2 separate regions of the Homo sapiens genome follow, and region 2 is linked to region 1. The links are contacts of gene promoters, found by promoter capture Hi-C in human tissues and cell types (Jung and others, 2019). All regions are on one chromosome and are shown on one strand. Each heading gives the region's core, a stretch centred on a gene start or on the middle of the fragment in contact. The rest is flanking DNA. Distances are from core to core; before and after follow the strand shown.

Region 1 (4,488 bases), core at 141-2,640:
CACATCACCTGGTCCAACTGAGGACACTCAGGCTCAGTGTGTCCTGGGTGGATCAGGACTAACGCCTGGGAATCTGATCTCAGGTCCTGGGCTTCTTCATTCTCCCAAACGAATCCCAAACCCGGAGTGTTTGAGTGTTATGAGAGCTCTCCTTTGAGGTTGAAGGAAGCAAATTAAAGCCCCCTCTCCCCTTTTTTTGGTACCATAGGTAGGGAAGGTAGAAAATGAATGGCACCTGCCCCTCCAAGTGGGGCAGGGCTGGAATTACACACTTTCGTGGTACACTCAGGTGAATTTTGGGGTTCTGGGGCTTCAATGTGGGTGGGATCTAGTTGTGTAGGAGGGGAGCATGAGTATGAAAACCAGGAACCCTAGATTCTAATGAAAGCTTTACCACTAACTCTCTGGTGACCTTGGTCCGCCACCTTACTGGGCCTCAGTTTCCCCATCTGTAAAATGAGAAGGTTGAATAAGTTCCCAGGATTCGTCTGGCCCTGATCTTCTAAGCCCTGTGATCCTTGATAAGGTAAGCCTCCCAAGGCTCTGACCCGGGCAATCTCCGGTTTTGCAGGAGCCTGGGCCTCAACCAGAAACAAGCAGCATGCTGGGGGAGGGGAGCGCGCTAAGCTTGTATTCTAGGGGAGGGTGGGACGCGGGAGGCTAAAGCTAAAGGGTCGGTGGAGGCGAAGCAATGGGAAGGCTGGGAGCCGCGCTTTAGAGGCCAGAAGGCTAGCGGCGATTTCCAATCTCCCTCAGGGGCTTCAGGCTCCGGAGAGGCGATGCAGCCCAGAGCCGCGCACCAGCCTCCGCCGGCCGCAGAGGCTCAGACCCCAAACCACTATCCCGATTCCTCCCCGGAACCGCGCACGGGCTTCGTGGGGAGTGGCTGCCGCTCCCTCCCGGCTACCAAGCGACAAGCCCCCTCCTCTGCATGGGGGACCCCTCCCCCAGCATGCGGGCGCCCAGAGCCCCACGGGGGCGTGGCGGGGGCGGGCGCCGGCTCCTCGGCCGGGAGGGCTGGAGAAGGTGTCAGTTGCGGGGCCGCCCGAAGGAGGGACCCGCGCCCTCCACCTTCCGGCTCCGCACACAAAGGCGCAGACGGAGGCGCCGCACTTACCGGCCAGAGCGGGCTCCGGGCGCCGGCGAGCAGGCGGGCAGGCTGGCGGGAGGATGCGCGCGCGAGTGTGCGTGTGTCTGCGTGTGTCCCTGCTTGTGTCTGTGCCAGTGTGTATGCGACGGGGGCCGCGCCGAGCTCTGTGCGTCTGCGTGTGCGGGGGCGTCCGTCCTTCGGTGCCTCCGTCCTTCGGTCCGTCCGCCTGGCGCTCCGTCCCGCGCTCCGTGCGCGCTCCCTCGCCCGACCGCCTCACCAAATGCGCTTCAGCTGCAGAGTCGCTGGCGCAGCCGCCGGGTGGGTTTGGCACCCCCCAGCCCCGGCTCCGCCCCGCCCCCGGGCGGGCTTCCGCCGCTCGCCGGGAATTGCGCAGGGCTGGCGGGGCGGGGGACCGGGAGAGCGGCCTGCTCCCGGGGCACGAAGGGGGCCGGATCACAGACCCTTAACCCCTGACCTCATCTCAGGTGCCTCCCTCTCCCGAGCAACTCTGCGCGGAGTCTCCGCAGTCGTCGCCCCCATGCCAAGGTTGCTTGGACAAGGAGGGCGGAGGAGTGGGAGCAGCGCATCCATTTCATTCATGATTTTTTCTCCTCTTGGGAGCCCCGGGTCGGGCCGCGCGGCTACGGCAACTGCCAGAGGGACCCCGGCAGGGCCGTGCGCGCTGAACCTGGGACGGGACAGACAGGCAGACAGAAGGAGTAGGGGCCAGCGAGACAAAGGGGGCAGAGTTGGGGGAGGGAGTCGGCTCATTGGGGGCATGCCGTGGCGCTCCCCGCATGTTGCCAACACCTGCGCAAGTGGAGCGGCCCCATACTAGGGCGCATGCAATACCAGGTGCCGAGGACTCGTTCTAGGACGCTGAGGAGGCGTCCTTTTTCCCAGTTCTCCCTGTTCAGCCTCTGGGGAGCTAGAGCGAGTGGACAGCCCCTCCCTCCACTGAGTCTTGCCCTCCTGACGTGCGGCGCGGGGCACGCACCTGTTTTGGTTTTCTCGTGGGCACCAGGGGCCCGGACGAGCAGGGAGCTGCCCATGTGCCCCACAATCCTGCCACAATCTTCCGTATTCTCCAGGCTGCTAGTGCGCTGGCCAGAGGTTTCCGGCATTCCATCCCCATGGGGGCTTGAGGCTGTGGGCTGCACACAGGGCAGGGATCCTAAACTCCATTTTTTACACGGGGAATCAGAGGCGAGCCACCACGTAGCTACCACCCTGGTTCCAGCCACCATCCACCCCCGCCCCCCGGGATTTCCATTATAGTCTCTTTACTGGTCTCCCAGCTTCCACCCTTGGCCCCCTGCAGCTGATTCTCTACACAGCAGTCAAGGCGATCCTTTAAAATTTAAGTCAGAGCACGTCGTTCCTTTACTGGAAATCCTACACTAGCACTCCATTTCATCCAAGGGAAAGTTAAAGGCCCCTCATGACCTGCAAAGCCCTTCAGGAACTGGCTCCTTTTTAGCTCTTTAACCTCTCTTTCTACCACCCTCCCCCTTCTCCCACGCTCCAGTCACATTGGCCTTTTTAATGCATCATCGGCGTGGCAGCCCTGTGGCCTCAGGACCTTTGCACTGCTGGTCTGTCTGCCTGGAAACTCTTCCCTCTGATAGTCACACGGCTACTCCTTTACCTCTTCAAAGTGTCACTCCCCCCACCCCCCCGCCCCCGAGACGGAGTCTTGCTCTGTCGTCCAGGCTGGAGTGCAGTGGCTCCATCTCAGCTCACTGCAACCCCTGCCTCCTGGGTTCAAGCGATTCTCCTGTCTCAGCCTTCCGAGTAGCTGGGACTACAGGCGCCCGCCACCATGCCCAGCTAATTTTTGTATTTTTAGTTGAGACGGGGTTTCGCCATGTTGGCCGGGCTGGTCTCGAACTCCTGACCTCATGATCCGCCCGTCTTGGCCTCCCAAAGTGCTGGGATTACAGGCGTGAGCCACCCTGCCCAGGCTCAATGTGTCGCTTCTAAGATAATTGCTGTAACTATCCTGTTTAAAGTTGCTGGCCCTCCCTCCTCATTTTCTCCATGCAGCTATGACTTTTATTTCTGTTCCCTGCCCCTGAGGCTCACTGGCTTCATTGCCAGCTCCCATCTCAATCCCCTCCCATCCCAATCCTTCAGCCTCACCTCACTAATCTGTTTTTTAAACAAACCCTGTGTTTTCCTGTCTCTAGGCCTTTGTTCACGTTGTCCCTGTTCAGTCTGGAATGCCATCCCTCCCATGTCTTGACTAATTTTTAAGGTCCAGCTTAAATACCACCTCCTTCTCCCCACATTTCCAGGGACACTCAGCTCTCATTACTTTCTGTCTGCTGTGATAGTGGTTCCTTCTCTTTTTCCCCAGGTGCACTATGAACTCCTGGAAAGTAGGGCGGGGTGTCTTCCCTTTCCCCAGTTCCCAGCACAGAAGGGCCCATCAGCACATGTTTGTGGATCAACGGCACTGATTGGGAGGCCCTAGGCTGGGCCTCAATTGGTCTTTTTTTTTTTTTTTTCCCCTAGGAAAAGACCTAGAGACCTAGACCCAATTAGGTCCCTGTGTTGCCCTCAAGGAGTTTCCTGTGGGGTGGGGGAGGATTATATATTGGGTAAAAAGGCCATACTGCTTGGGTTGTGTGGAAGTGTGAGTAGACATTTCAGCCTGTACGCCAGGACCTGCTCCCTACCCCCCGAGAGCATCATCACCATGGTTCGGCATGAGGCTGATTTCTCCAGGCTGCATCAGTTGAACAATAGCAGCTACTATACATGGGCACTTTAGTATGTGCCAGGTAGTGTTTTGTGTTTTCTCAAGGCACTGCTCTATTGAATCTTCATGACATCTGTGGGAGGTAGGCCTTTTGACATCCCCAATTTCAGTAGAGGAAGCAGAAGGAATAAGTGAGTTACTTAAGGTCACTTAAGAGGTGTGTGTTTCAAATTCAGATCTAGCCAGTTCCATAGCACGTGGTCACAGAAGCAGGGATGCCTTAACATGAAAGCCCTTTGGGCTGATGGAAGGAAGGGGAGAAAGTAGGGCTTAGAGAGCTTCAGTGGCATCAGCCTGGCCCAGATTCTTGATGTCCCCAGCTCAGGGGTCACAGAGTCATGGTACTCCAGGTGCACTGGGGCCTCACAGGTTCCTGTCAGTGCTGCCTCTGATGTCCTGTGGTGGAGGCTAATGGCTGCCCTTGTAAAGGCAACTTCGGAAAGCTAGCGGTGCCTCGCAAACATTCCTAGCTGTGTGCTCTGGGTTCAAAGCCCAGCCCCAGCTGTCACATGTGGATAATAATGCCCATCTTAAAGGGCTATGGGAAGGAAGAAGTATGACAATACCTCTAGAAAGTAGTAAGGCAACAGCAACAACAAAGATCTTTCTTCTTTTGTTTCTTGTATTGAGTTTC
Region 2 (4,282 bases), core at 1,436-3,935, 610 kb before region 1:
AGCAAAAAGAACAAATCTGGAGGCATCACATTACCCAACTTCAAACTATGAGGCTATAGTCACCAAAACCCATGGTACTGGTATAAAGATAGGCGTATAGACCAATGGAACAGAACAGAGAACCCAGAAATAAACCCAAATACTTACAGCCAACTGATCTTCAACAAAGCAAACAAAAACATAAAGAGGGGAAAGGACATACTTTTCAACAAATGATGCTGGGATAATTAGCAAACCATATGTAGAAGAATGAAACTGGATCCTCATCTCTCACCTCATACAAAAATCAACTCAAGATGGATCAAAGACTTAAATCTAAGACCTGAAACCATAAAAATTCTAGAAGATAACATCGGAGAAACCCTTCTAGACATTGGCTTAGGCAAAGACTTCATGACCAAGAACCCAAAAGTAAATGTAAAAAAAAAACAAAGATAAATCAATGGGACTTAATTAAACTAAAAAGTTCTGCACAGCAAAATAATAATAATAATAATAATCACCAGAGTAAACAGACAACTCATGGAATGGAAGAAAATCTTCACAAACTGTGCATCCGACAAAGGACTAATATCCAGAATCTACAAGGAAATCTAACAAATCATCAAGAATAAAACAAATTATCCGTTTGAAAAGTGGGCTGAGGACATGAATAGACAATTCTTAAAAGAAGATATACCAATGGCCAATAAACATATGAAAAAATGCTCAACATCACTAATTATCAGGGAAATGCAGATCAGAACCACAAAACAATACCACCTTACTCCTGCAAGAATGGCCATAATTAAAAAATCAAAAAATAATAGATGTTGGCATGGATGTGGTGAAAAGGGAACACTTTTACACTGCTGGTGGGGATGTAAACTAGTAAAACCACTATGGAAAACAGTGTGGAGATTCCTTAAAGAACTAAAAGTAGATCTGCCTTTTGTTCCAGCAATTCCACTACTGGATATCTACCCAGAGGAAAGGAAATCATTTATGAAAAAGACACTCACACATGCATGTTTATAGCAGCACAATTTGCAATTGTAAAAATATAGAACCAGCCCAAATGCCCATGAATTAATAGGTGGATAAAGAAAATGTCATATATATATGCATATGTATATATATATGCATATGCATATGCATATACACACACACACACACACACACACACACACACACACCATGGATTACTACTCAGCCATAAAAAGGAACAAAATAATGGCATTCACAGCAATCTGGATGGAGTTGGAGACCATTACTCTAAGTGAAGTAACTCAGGAATGGAAAACCAAACATTGGATGTTCTTACTTGTAAGTAGGAGCTAAGCTATCAGGACACAAGGGCATAAGAATGATACAATGGACTTTGGGGACTGGAGGAAAAAGAGTGGGAGGTAGGTGAGGGATAAAAGACTACACACTGGGTACAGTATACACTGTTCTGGTGATGGGTACATCAAAATCTCAGAAATCACCACTAAACTACTTATCCATGTAACCAAACACCACCTGTTCTCCAAAAACTTATCGAAGTAAAAAAATAAAATGTATAATCTCAGCTATTTTCAAATGTGTACTACATTATTATTTACTATATTTACCACACTATGTAATATATCTCAAAGAAAAAAATTATTCCTCCTATTTAATTAAGGTTTTATACTCTTTGACCGTCAATCATTTCTCCATGGGTGTTGAAATTTGTCAAATCCTTTTTCTCTGTTTATTGAGATATTCACATAATTTTTCTCCTTTAATCTGTTAATGTGGCAAATTTCACTGATTGATTTACAAATGTTAAACAAACATTGCACTACTGAGATAAACCCCACTAGCCATTCTGTATTATCCTTTTGATATATTTCAGGATTCTACCTGCTACTACTGTGTTAAGAATTTTTGCATCTATATTCATAAAGAATTTTGGTCTGTAGTTTCCTTATTGGTAATATCTTTTCCAGATTTCACTATTAAAGATATACATGGTCTCATAAAATAAGTTGGAGAATATTCTTTCCTTCTGAAATTTATGATAAAATATTTGTATAAATTTGATATGATTTTTCCCTTTAAATATCAACAGAATTTATCCAAGCCTTCTGGATCTAAATTTTTGCATGTGCATGTGTGGAAAGTTTTAATTAAAAATGTAGTATCTTGGCCAGGTGCAGTGGCTCATGCCTGTAATCCCAGAACTTTGGGAGGCCAAGGCGGGCGGATCACCTGAGGTCAGGAGTTCAAGACCAGCCTGGCCAACATGATGAAACCCCATCTCCACTAAAAATACAAAAATTAGCCAGGTTTGGTGGTGTGCGCCTGTAATCCCAGCTACTCAGGAGGCTGAGGCAAGAGAATCATTTGAACCCGGGAGGCAGAGGTTGCAGCACTCCAGCCTGGGTGACAGAGTGAGACTTCATTAAAAAAAACAACAACTATATATATATATATCTTTCACAGACATACAGCTATTCACATTTTCTATTGCTTCTCATGTCAGTTTTGGTGAGTTATGTCTTTCAAGAAAAGTGTCCCTTTCATCTAAGCTTTGAATTTATTGACATAAGTTTGTTCGTGATAGTTCTCTATTATCCTTTTAATGTCTTTAGAGACTATAGCAATATTCCCACTCTCATTCTTGATAATGATGTTATTTTCTCTTTGTTTATTGTTCAGTATTGCTAAAAATTTATGAATATCATTAATCTTTTCATGGTACTATCACAGCTTTGATTTTATCTCTATTGCTTGTTTTCTGTTTCACTGATTTCTGCTCTTTATTGTTTCTTTTTATTTTGGTCTTAATTTGTTCATGTTTTTTATACTTCTGAAGCTTGAAGGTTAGATCTTGATTTTTTTAATTATTAAGTGTTTGATAGAATTCACCAGTGTGGCCATGTGTGCCTGGAGCTTTCTTTGTAGAAGAGTTTTTAATTATAAATTCAATTTCCTTAGTAGATACAGGATTATTTGCAATTACTGTATCTTCTTGATCAATTTTGGGAAGGTGCGTTTTTAAAAGAGTACTTCTATTTCTTCTAAATTGTCAAATTTTGACAAAAAATCATTCAAAGGAGCTTTTTATTTCTGTATTTTTAATACTGGTAGTACGTACCATGATAGTCTCTCTTTGATTCCCAGTGTGAGTTTTGTGTTTTCTCTATTTATATTTTTCTTCATTGGTATTGCTAGGAATTTATCAATTTTATTATCTTTTCAAAAATATAAATTTCATCATTATTGTTATTTTTCTATTGTACCTTTGCTTTTTTTTTTTTTTTGAGACGGAGTCTCGCTCTATCGCCCAGGCTGGAGTGCAGTGGCGTGATCTCAGCTCACTGCAAGCTCTGCCTCCCGGGTTCATGCCATTCTCCTGCCTCAGCCTCCCGAGTAGTTAGGACTACTGGTGCCTGCCACTATGCCCGGCTAATTTTTCTTTTTTTTTTTTTTTTTGGATTTTTAGTAGAGACGGGGTTTCACCATGTTAGCCAGGATGGTCTCGATCTCCTGACCTCGTGATCCTCCCGTCTTGGCCTCCCAAAGTGCTGGGATTACAGGCGTGAGCCACCGCACCTGGCCCCTTTGCTTTTTACTTTTTTTTCCAATCTTTATTATTTCCTTCCTTTTACAGTAGTTCCATCTTATCTTTAAGGGATAAATTCCAAGACCCCCACTGGTTGTATGAAAAGTGTTTCAATTGACAGCAACCAAAACACATTTCTGTTCACCTCTTCAACACAAAAATTTAATGCTTTTTCTATCTTAATTAAGTAATCGTCATGTAATGTGGCCATAGCTTTTGCAGTTTGAGGTGCAACAGCAAAACCAGCATGATTTTTTTTTGCCTCCTTTATGATGTAACTAGTTTTTACTGTAGACCTTAGCAGCCTCCACATTCTATTTTTTTTCTTCCTTATTAAGTTGTAAACTTTCACCTTTACTTAGAGGGAGCACTCTATCACTTCTCTTTGGCGTATCTGAATTGCCAGCATCCCTATTTCTAATGCTTTGGAGCCATTAATAAGTAAAATAAAGTTTACTTGAACACAAGCACTGTGATACCACAACAACTGATCTAGCAACTGAGAGGGCTACAAATGGATGGATAGGGTACACAGCATGGATATGCTAGGCAAAGGGGTGAATCACATCCCAGGAAGGACAGAGCAGGACCACAAGAGATTTCATCACACTATTCAAAGTGGTACATAATTTTAAACATATGAATTATTTATTTCTGGAATTACTGAATGGAGAAAATCTGCTTACCTTTTAAAAACAAACAACTCTT

The links. Contacts are between HindIII fragments. The study calls those that stand out against the background at their distance.
Region 2: a contact is called between a fragment that was not itself captured here and the fragment with the promoter of PTPN5 in region 1, in 1 of the 25 tissues and cell types used here (spleen).

The regions. Positions count from the first base shown.
Region 1 is chr11:18,790,408-18,794,895 of GRCh38, forward strand. PTPN5 (protein tyrosine phosphatase non-receptor type 5) reads right to left here and starts at 1,391. Exons shown (of 15, transcript NM_006906.2): 1 at 1,118-1,391. The HindIII fragment of the contact is 10,569 bases long and covers 96-4,488 here.
Region 2 is chr11:18,181,994-18,186,275 of GRCh38, forward strand. No RefSeq gene overlaps it. Among named protein-coding and RNA genes, the nearest start is that of MRGPRX4, 11 kb to the left of the region's middle. The HindIII fragment of the contact is 3,276 bases long and covers 1,048-4,282 here.